2 separate regions of the Homo sapiens genome follow, and region 1 is linked to region 2. Evidence: promoter capture Hi-C in 16 types of primary human blood cells and fetal thymus (Javierre and others, 2016). All regions are on one chromosome and are shown on one strand. The core of a region is centred on a gene start or on the middle of the fragment in contact, and the rest is flanking DNA. Distances in the headings are between cores, read along the strand shown.

Region 1 (4,335 bases), core at 922-3,421, 910 kb after region 2:
CAGAGAGCTGAGATAACAACCTCTAGGAGCCAGACTCTTAAATGACATTAATATGTGTACACGTTCCAGAGTGTCCACAGTTATGAATAAAGCAGAGAAGACAAGGGGCATGAGGAGGAGAATAAGCCAGGGGAGTTGGCAACAAGGAGGCCATAAATGACTGCAAGATTCTTGAAGGCAGAAAGTCGACCTGATGCTGCTTATGCCACATCAGGCAGTCTTTCTCACAGCATCCACTGATTCATGTGAGAGCTATTGATTAAGAAATGTACTGCATGCCAGGTCCAGGATATTCAACAAGGAGCAGGAAAGGCAGATTCTTGCCTTTGGCATGAACAGTGTAGCAGAGAAGAGACAAGAGTCCACTTGTCCATGTGAGCAGGACATGATGGCACAGCATGGTGAATGCTGTGATAGAGGGAGTTTAGGGCAATGTGGAGAACCCACTGTGAAGCAGCACCCCATCTAGGTTTGAAGTCAGGAAGGTAGGGCTTCCTGGAGAAAGTTATGCCCAAGTTGGGACCAATGCCAGACATACATTAGTCAGAGCAAGTAACACCAGCTGCTGTAACAAATGAGCTCCAAATTATAGACACTGTTACAGGCTGAACTGTGTTCCCAAAAAGAAAAGATATGCTCTTAATTCCTGGTACCTGTGAATGTGACTTTATTTGGAAACAGGGTCCTTGAAGATATAATCAACTTAGGAAGGAGTCATGCTGGCTTAAGGTGGGCCCTGAGCCATGTCTGGTGTCCTTATAAGAAAGGAAAATGTGGACACATGCAGACACAGAAGGACAGCATCACGTGTGGACAGAGGCTGTGACTGGGGTGGAGCCTCTATGGGCCAAGGGGTGCCAACGATTCCCAGCAACCACAGAGACAAGAAAGAGGAAGGAAGGATCCTTCCCTGGAGCCTTGATAGTGAACATGGCCCAGGGCAAGCTCCGGGAATGTGAGACAATACCTTTCTCTTGTCTTAAGGCACCCAGCCTGCGGTACTTTGTTACGGAGGCTTAGCACACTAGGGAGGTTATTCCTTGTTTGCCCTGACTTTGGCTCAGAGGAGTAGCTGGGGGTAGGGGTGGGAGTGGCTGTGCTCCACAGAGTCACTAAGGGACCCAGGATCCTTCTCTCTTGTTGCTCCACCTTCCTTTAGGACCTCCACAAGAGAAGCAGAGATGGAATAGAGAGAACACAGAGACCCCATGGGAGGCTTCAGGATCAAGCTACCTCACTGCACCCACATCCTATTACCAGAACAAAGTCAGATTCCCTACCCTCAACCAAAAGGGACATGGAAATATCCTCTTTCTGTATATCTAGGGGGAAAATAAAGCATTTTTGGTGAAAACATAGCATTTCACTGTTTCTTCCCCAAAATGCAAGCTGTTTTTTGAACTATAAGTACAGAGCTCCTTTGAAGCTTCCTGGGATGATTCCTAGTGCCATTATTCTGGGCTGTGGGAATAACCATTTTCATTGTCTATATCATCTACAATTCCAGTGTAACTCAAGATCCATTTGTGCAGACCAAAGTGTCCAACTCTTTCCAGTCTGCTATCAGGAGTGCCTCTCCATTATCCCTGCTGTGGACAAGCTCTTCCCTTCCTGGGCCTCCTAACTCAGCTGCATTCATTTCTGGGTAAAGCAAACAGACCTCTTAGAGTTCCTCTGATAGGGTGCTCTTGTTTTCAGGTGGGAAGCTGTTTTGCTTTGCCCTATGGTGCCCTTATTGATGAAGCTGAGTAGAGCTACAGTAGAGCTCTGCTGCAAACTGTTGAGGCCTTTGGAGAGTGTTTTTCTGGGAAAGATGCCTGAGTTCTTTCAACCCCCTGGGGAACTAAATGCCAGCAAAGCATGACTGGCTCTGGGCCCAGCTATGAATACAAGGAGCAAGATAGACAGATCTGGGTGCATTTCTTTTCCATTATCATCCCATTGTATCTGGAGCCCAGGAGAGGAGATGAAAGTGCTAGCAATTAATCTGGGGCCAGATGGCTCGGCCAATCCCATCCCACTCTCTGTGCTGTGGGGTCATTTCCATTTGCCTTTTATTTTGACAAGCATATTAATCAGCAAAGGTGAGTGGCATTATTAAAGCAGCTGCTGGTGCCAGCACTCTCTCCCCCAACCCTGCCACACTCAGTTTCAAGTCGTTCTCTCCAGTAAAGAGGGAGGCTTCTGTCCAGCTCATCGGGAGTAATTACTGCTTTACTCTTTACAGGTAGCTCAGCACACACATGCGCACACATGTGCACACACATGCATGTACATGCACATGCATGACACACATGCACACAAACACTACTGTGCCTATCAGAGGATGCCTGCATGAGTGAAGAGTTGGACTTTCCCACTGCACACTGAACAGAGACAGGGCAGGTCTTACTGCCATTTCTTTCTCTCTACTTGTCCAGACACATTGAGGTCCAGTCTTGAACACAGAGAGAGAATATTTAAAATACCATTGACTTCCAAGCCTCCCACAGCCAACCTGCCCATAGATACATTACATAGCTATTTAAGTTTGACAGCGTTCTGAATTCCTCTGGCAAGGGGAGAATAGATTGAACCTCCTAAGTCATAAGATAGGAAGAGAGAATTACGGCAAGGAGAAGAGGAGAGGAGTTGTTGTGGCAAAGACTTTGAGCACAATTGCAGGGCATTGTTTTCATAATTGTGTATATTTACATTAAACCACTGAAGATGCTGTGGCTGCTGAATTGGCCACCACCAGTTCATTCTGCAATGTTCCTCACTGGTGCTGGATGTCAGGGATGCACTGGGTTTAGGGGCTACAAACTGGCAGCAGAGAATCTTGTTGCAATGTCGCCCACAGCCTCACAGGGCAGGCCCACGTGCAATAGTTGCATCCACGGATAATGGGGTGGAGCAGAGGAGGTGAAAGCTTTGGATTCCTAGGTCTCACCTGTGAGGCACAGAGGGGAGCCATTTGATACTGCACTTGCACTCAGCAAATGACAGTGGAAACACCAAGTGTGTGGCTCAGATCTAGAAACACAACTCATTTCCATTAACCATCAAGTGAAGCTGAGCAGAGAGTTGGGAGACTGAACTTAATTGGAAGCACAGAGGTCATCAGATTGTATGCTCAATTGGCACGACTCTGTCTCAGAGCCCTAACTGGGAAAGAGGCTGCCCGCTCTCACTCCATGGCCTGAAGGGAAGACAGCAGGTGAAAAATCAGTGCACAGTTACCACCACTGCAGGAGGACAGCAGAGACTCTTGTCATCACAATGGACGGGGGCACTTGTGACATCTTTGTCCAAAGAAGGAGCACATTGTCCTGCCTGGTCTTAAACCCAGCCTCTTTGGCATAAAATTTTTAAGGTAAAATAGGTTCATGGTCCAAAGCTATTGAAACAGCATTCTCTGCCTCCTCACTTTGATATTTTTATCCAGGTCAGATCAGATTAAAATGAACAGCAGGAAATTCCATGACAGATGAAAAAAGCACACAAACTTAGACAAGAGAATTGTGAAAGTCAATTTCTATTTAACAGATATTTATTAAAGATTCACATGTGCTGACACTGTTCTGGGTACTTGAAAACATCAATGAACAAAACAATGCTGGCCCTCCTTGAACTTGGTTGCATCCTAGCAGTTGGAAACAGGTAAAACAGAGTAATAAGTGAGTAAATTATCTAGGAAATGGTAAAGAGTACAGCAGAATTGAGTCAGAGCAGAGAGGGTGGGGCAGTTACAGAATTAAACGAAGTGCTCAGGGAGGCCTCATTGGAAAGGTGGCATTTGGGAAAGACTCGGAGGAAGTGCAGGAGTGAGTCAAACTGACATATGGAGGAAGAGTGTTCACATTTCAGAGATTACAGTGGCCAGCGTGGCTGCAACAAAATGAGCAAAAGGAAATATCCCAGGAGCTGATGTCAGGAAGCAGCAGGACCCACATCTGTGGGACTTCCAGGCCACGGCAAGGAGTTTTATTCAGAATAAAACTTTTATTCTGAATAAAACGGAGGCCCTGAAGGTTATTAGCACAGCACTGATATCAGGTTACTCAAGTATTCTAAGGATTACTTAAACCTGGCTGCCATGCTGGGAATAGATTACAAGGAAACAGGGACAGAAACAAGAAAACAAAAATTAGATGATGGTATTTAGACCAGGGTAGTAGCAGAAAAGATAGTGAGAATTGGTCAGGTTCTCAGTATTCTGAAGATAGAGCCAATGGGTTTTATAACAGGTTTGATGTAGAGATAAGTGAAAAAGTGAGGTTGAGAATGCCACCAAGATGTTCCCTGGGCTGTTGGGATGGTGGAGTTTCTATTAACTGGCATGGAAAGGTGGCA
Region 2 (4,767 bases), core at 1,643-4,142:
GCTCTGAGTCCGGGCTTCTCCCTGCCCCTGCTGTCTTCCTTTGATCTCCTGGACACCACCTTGTTTTCCAGCACACGGAAACCCCTGGGAATGCTGGCTTGTCTGGGGAGTCTCCTAGGGAAATGCCAAGCAGGGGGAATGGGGAGGGTCCCGAGGAAGTGATCCCAAAGCCCAGCAGGCGATCCTGAAACTGGCAGGCCCCGCTGAGCCTGGCCCAGCTTGAAACAGGCAGTGAGCAAGGTCGCACGGGACCTTTAGAGCATGTGGCTGAGTAGGCCGGGCAGTGAGGGACATGAGTCCGACCCCGGGGAGAGCACTCAGCTGGAGGGTCTGCGGGAGCTGGGGAGAGCGTCCTGTGTCCCGAAGAGTCACTGGGCTTCCCCTCGTCCACCGCCTCATGTTCAGCTTCACAGAAAAGGGCCAGTGGCTTGGTCCTGGTCGTTGCCAGCATTCTCTAATCATTCAAAGGAATGCGTTCAGAAATACAGGGCCTCGTTTCTGGAAAAGCAGGTCCATTTCAGTGAGGAGTTACTGGGACCTTCCTATGAGACCACATGGGTGTTCGGTGCCAGTGCCAGCAACACAAAGAGAGCACCAGACAAGTCCCGGTGGCCCCAGAGACAGACAGGCCAACGAGTGCCCAGGAAGAAGCTGAGTGAGACAGAACTCTTGCAAGGGGACTCAGGAGAGAAAGCCTCCCAGACCTGAGACCTGGGGATAGCCCTGCAGAGAGCTGTGAGCTGTGCCTGTGGGCTGGCCAGCCAGCCCCTCCGGGCCGTCCGGTTTCACTCTGGCCTCGGCAACATGTTGACCCACGTCTTCGGGGCTCCTCAGCCTGGAGCCCACATGTATTTCTCTTTACCTGGCTATGTCTTGATATTCCCGTCTCTCTCCACCTGGGAAGTGAGGCCATCCCAGGCCACTGGGGATTCAACAAGAAAATAGACACACTTGTAAGGGTCCATGGTGTCTGTACACCCGTGGTCTCACATCTGGGTGTGGGGATCCCTGTCCCCTCCTTGGCTGCACAGTGAGGACAGAGCTGGTGCCCAGGACCCTAAACCACTGCTCATGTAAGAGTGAGTGTGGGCACTCCCTTGGAGCACATGTGGGTATCGGCCCTCAGAATGGTGGGGGAGCCACTGGCAATTGGCAGGATGCCCCAAGTTTGTCAGCCGCTGAACTTACAAGGTGAGAGTGACCTCCATGGGCATTGCAGGCCTCTCTCAGGACACTCGCAACCTATTCCAGGCATCAGGATTCTAGTTCTCACAGCACCTTATGGCCTGCTCATCCCAAAACCCACAAAGGCATTTCCGCCCTCACTGACACCCCCTTCCTACCCCTACGTGCACCATCACTCTCCAGCTAAGAAACCACATTAGTTACGCTTCAGCTGCAGTTCCAGTGAACTCAACGCCATCAGAGAAAGGATACAGACTCCTTGGGTGATGTTTTTGGCACATCTGGCTGCTTTCCTGGAATTGTCACATTGAGTTGCTTTTTCTTTGCAAACAGGGTCTAGAAACAAACTCTTATTCTTTATCACCAGGCATGCTGTCTAAGCCTGTCCCCCATCCTGTGTGCCCCACAAAAGCCATTCTCATCCCCTGACCTCCATGCCCCTCAAGCTGAGTTACTTCTCATATGTGGTTTGGTCTGTATGCACTTCCCAGGAAGTATTCTGAACCTGCACCACTCAAAGTATGGTTCTGAGACCGGGAACACAACCATCCTCTGGAAGCTGGTGAGAAATGTAGTTTCCCTGGCCCTGCTCACAGCTACTGGGTCAGAATCTTTGGGTGGGGAAACTAGGAACTTGCTTTTTAACGTGACATCAGGGGATGCTGGTTGCTTCTGAAGTTTACAAGGAGCTACGGATAAACATCAAAGGCATATTTCACAGGGACAAAGCTTAAGTCTGGTCTGTGAAGAGTGCATTATTCAGTCTTTTGAGAGCCCCATTTGCGGTTGGAGTTGGAGGCTATGTGGGTCTTGGTCGAGAACTCAGAATCTCCACCCACAAACTGTGCCGCAGAGTGCTGTGCCGGCTGTGGCCACAGGAGGGAACCCGTGACAACCTAATGGGTGCACTTCAGCCATCCCTGAGGGCATCTTCGTCTTTCTGGTTCTCCACTGCTCCAATTGCAAGCGGCCACCCGTCCTGGAAACACCTTTGAGGAATAGGGGCAGCCATAACTAGCCAGGCCCCTAGTACCAGCACTTGGCAGCGCGTCCCTGGGCTGGGAAGCTGCATTTAGGGAGGTGCAGAGAACAGGGTTGGGGGCTCCTGCTCTTGATTTCCTCAACCTCTGCCCACGACCCCCAGGCTGGTGCCCCCCTCCCGAGACCCTCGGGGGAGCAGACACCTGCAGGACATCCCGCCAATCCTCCCGGGCTCCCCGCCTCTCTCTCAAGAGGCCCAGTGCTTTCTCGGGGCGCTGTACCTGCTCACCCATGATACTAGCATCCACTGTCATCCCTTTCCATCCTTTTGTCTCTGCCTTTCCACCTAACCTCCCCCTCCCAGCCCACCCCCACTGCTGAGTCCAGGGCTCACCTTCCACTCATACCTCTCACACTTGTGTTCCTGTGCCGGGCTCTGACTCTGGGGCGCCCAGTAGAGGTCTCCTTTAGCCTGCGGAGGTGCTGGGGCAGCTGGGGCTGGGCCTCATGTTCAGGGCACTATCTCTCCCATTGCTAGTCTTTTCCAACCCACCTGCCTGGGTGCTGTTCCTCTCCCCTAAACAGGAGATGATTTAAACGCCTTTGGAAGAAGGGAGGCCATGTGTGGGAGAGACAGGGTGTAACTGCAGAGGTGAGGCCTGGAGGGAGGAGTTTCTGCCCCAGCAGGTGAATTTAAAGGCCAGACCTGAGCCCTGGAAGGCTCCAGTGGACGCCAGGGATCTGAAGGGCAAAGGCAAGGGCTGCTGGAGCCTGCATCATGTCGAGTCCGCAGAGGAGGAAGGCTATGCCCTGGGCACTGTCACTGCTTCTCATGGGCTTCCAGCTCCTGGTGACTTATGCCTGGTGTTCTGAAGAGGAAATGGGTGGTAATAATAAAATAGTCCAGGATCCTATGTTCCTCGCCACAGTGGAGTTTGCCTTGAACACTTTCAACGTGCAGAGCAAGGAGGAGCATGCCTACAGGCTGTTGCGCGTCCTGAGTTCATGGAGGGAGGATAGCATGGACAGAAAGGTTGGTGACCACATCCTCTTCTGGCCTGTCCTTCTCCATCTGCCCCTAAGTGAGGGACCAAGATGTCTAGTCTAGGAGACTTGGTTCACCATCAGCAGTCCATAGTCAGGTAGTCCACAACCAATTACGGTAGTTTTAGTTTTGGAAAACATTGAACTTAAAATTTTTTTTAAATTAGGTAAATGTCTATTCACATGCAAAATATATTTTTCAATCTTCATGATTTTTAAGACATTGTATAACTGAAGAGTGACTTCAAAATAAGGACTTCTAAGGAGATGAAGCTGACAAGAAGAGAAAATAACCAAAGAGACTGATAAACATTTCCAGGTCATAAAATGAAAATGGAAAAGCAAGGACACACAGAGGGAGAGAGAGAGAGAGACAGAGAGAGACAGACAGACAGAGAGAGAGAGACAGAGAGAGAGAGAGACAGGCAGACAGAGAGAGAACAGTGAGAATTCGAGGGCAATAAAGAACACCATCAGCCCTGAGAGGCCACCGTGAAAGGTTAGTTCTCTGATCTCCACCTTCTCTGGGCTCCTTGCTCTGTCTGCACTTAATGAACTGAAGGCCAATTTACACTCTTCCTCAATGGACCTTTATCCTAAAATGCTTGCCTTTTTGATGAAATCATTAAATGTGGTCAGGAATGCACAGTTCATCTGGGCTTCAGGCATGAACAATTAAAATGCCCTCCTAGTGGAGAACTTCTGGTTTAGAGAGAGAAGGAGCATTGCTCTTCCTTTCTCAGCACCAAGAGCCTGAAAGAAAGGCAGAGGGACTCTAGTACCGCACAGAGCTTAAGCTCTGGAAAGACTCTGTGCAAGGCTCTGGCTGGTTCTCTGCCTCCTGGGGTGGATTCCTCACTGCCATCCTCAGGATTCCAATGCTGGTACAGAGGAATTTTCCTCCTTGCTCATTTGCTGCCTCCTCTCAGGAGAATTAAAAGCCTGATGCAACCCTCAGAGGGGCATCTGGTCCAGTAATGGTGGCTGCTAATATTCATGCTGGAACCTTGGAAGTCTCAGAGATTGAGATTGGCCAGGCCTCATGCTTCTGCTTTCCCAGTGCTTTGCTTGATTCTCCAAGACCTCAGTGTAAGCCTCCATTCTTAATACCGTTAGAATAAAATCTAAGCTCCTTACTATGGTCTATAAGTCCTAAATGACAGTAAGTCCTAAAAGCTTTCCACATGGCTTCCTGGATATGGCAATCCCAGCATCAGTTTGGGGGCTGGGAAGAATAGATGGGTGAGAGGGAGGCTATGGAGTGGAATTAAATAGAATGGAGTGGGAAGGAGGGCAAGGAGAACTTCAGCATGCACTTTGCAATAGGGCAGATGGTATTTCTTGAACCCATTTTCCCAGGGTGTGTGCCTGTGTGTAGTGGGAGCGCTGTGTGTCATTCTTCTTGCTGGAGGTCACTTGGAAGGTTTGACAACACACTGTAGATGAGGCTCCCTCTGTCCCAGGGCTGAAGTTACCCTGAAAACTCTTGGAGATCCAACACCCTCCCGGACATGTGGCTCTGTCCTCTGGGAATGCAGCTGCAAGATCAGATGCCTA

The links. Contacts are between HindIII fragments. The CHiCAGO score rates a contact against its expected background, and 5 or more counts as called.
Region 1: a fragment that was not itself captured here is called in contact with the fragment with the promoter of CST9 in region 2 in 1 of 17 cell types (total B cells); the score reaches 5.3 in total B cells.

What each region holds. Positions count from the first base shown.
Region 1 is chr20:22,698,098-22,702,432 of GRCh38, reverse strand. No RefSeq gene overlaps it. Among named protein-coding and RNA genes, the nearest start is that of LINC01747, 15 kb to the right of the region's middle. The HindIII fragment of the contact is 1,485 bases long and covers 1,429-2,913 here.
Region 2 is chr20:23,604,042-23,608,808 of GRCh38, reverse strand. CST9 (cystatin 9) reads left to right here and starts at 2,892. Exons shown (of 2, transcript NM_001008693.3): 1 at 2,892-3,199. The coding sequence starts at 2,945. The HindIII fragment of the contact is 2,472 bases long and covers 1,917-4,388 here.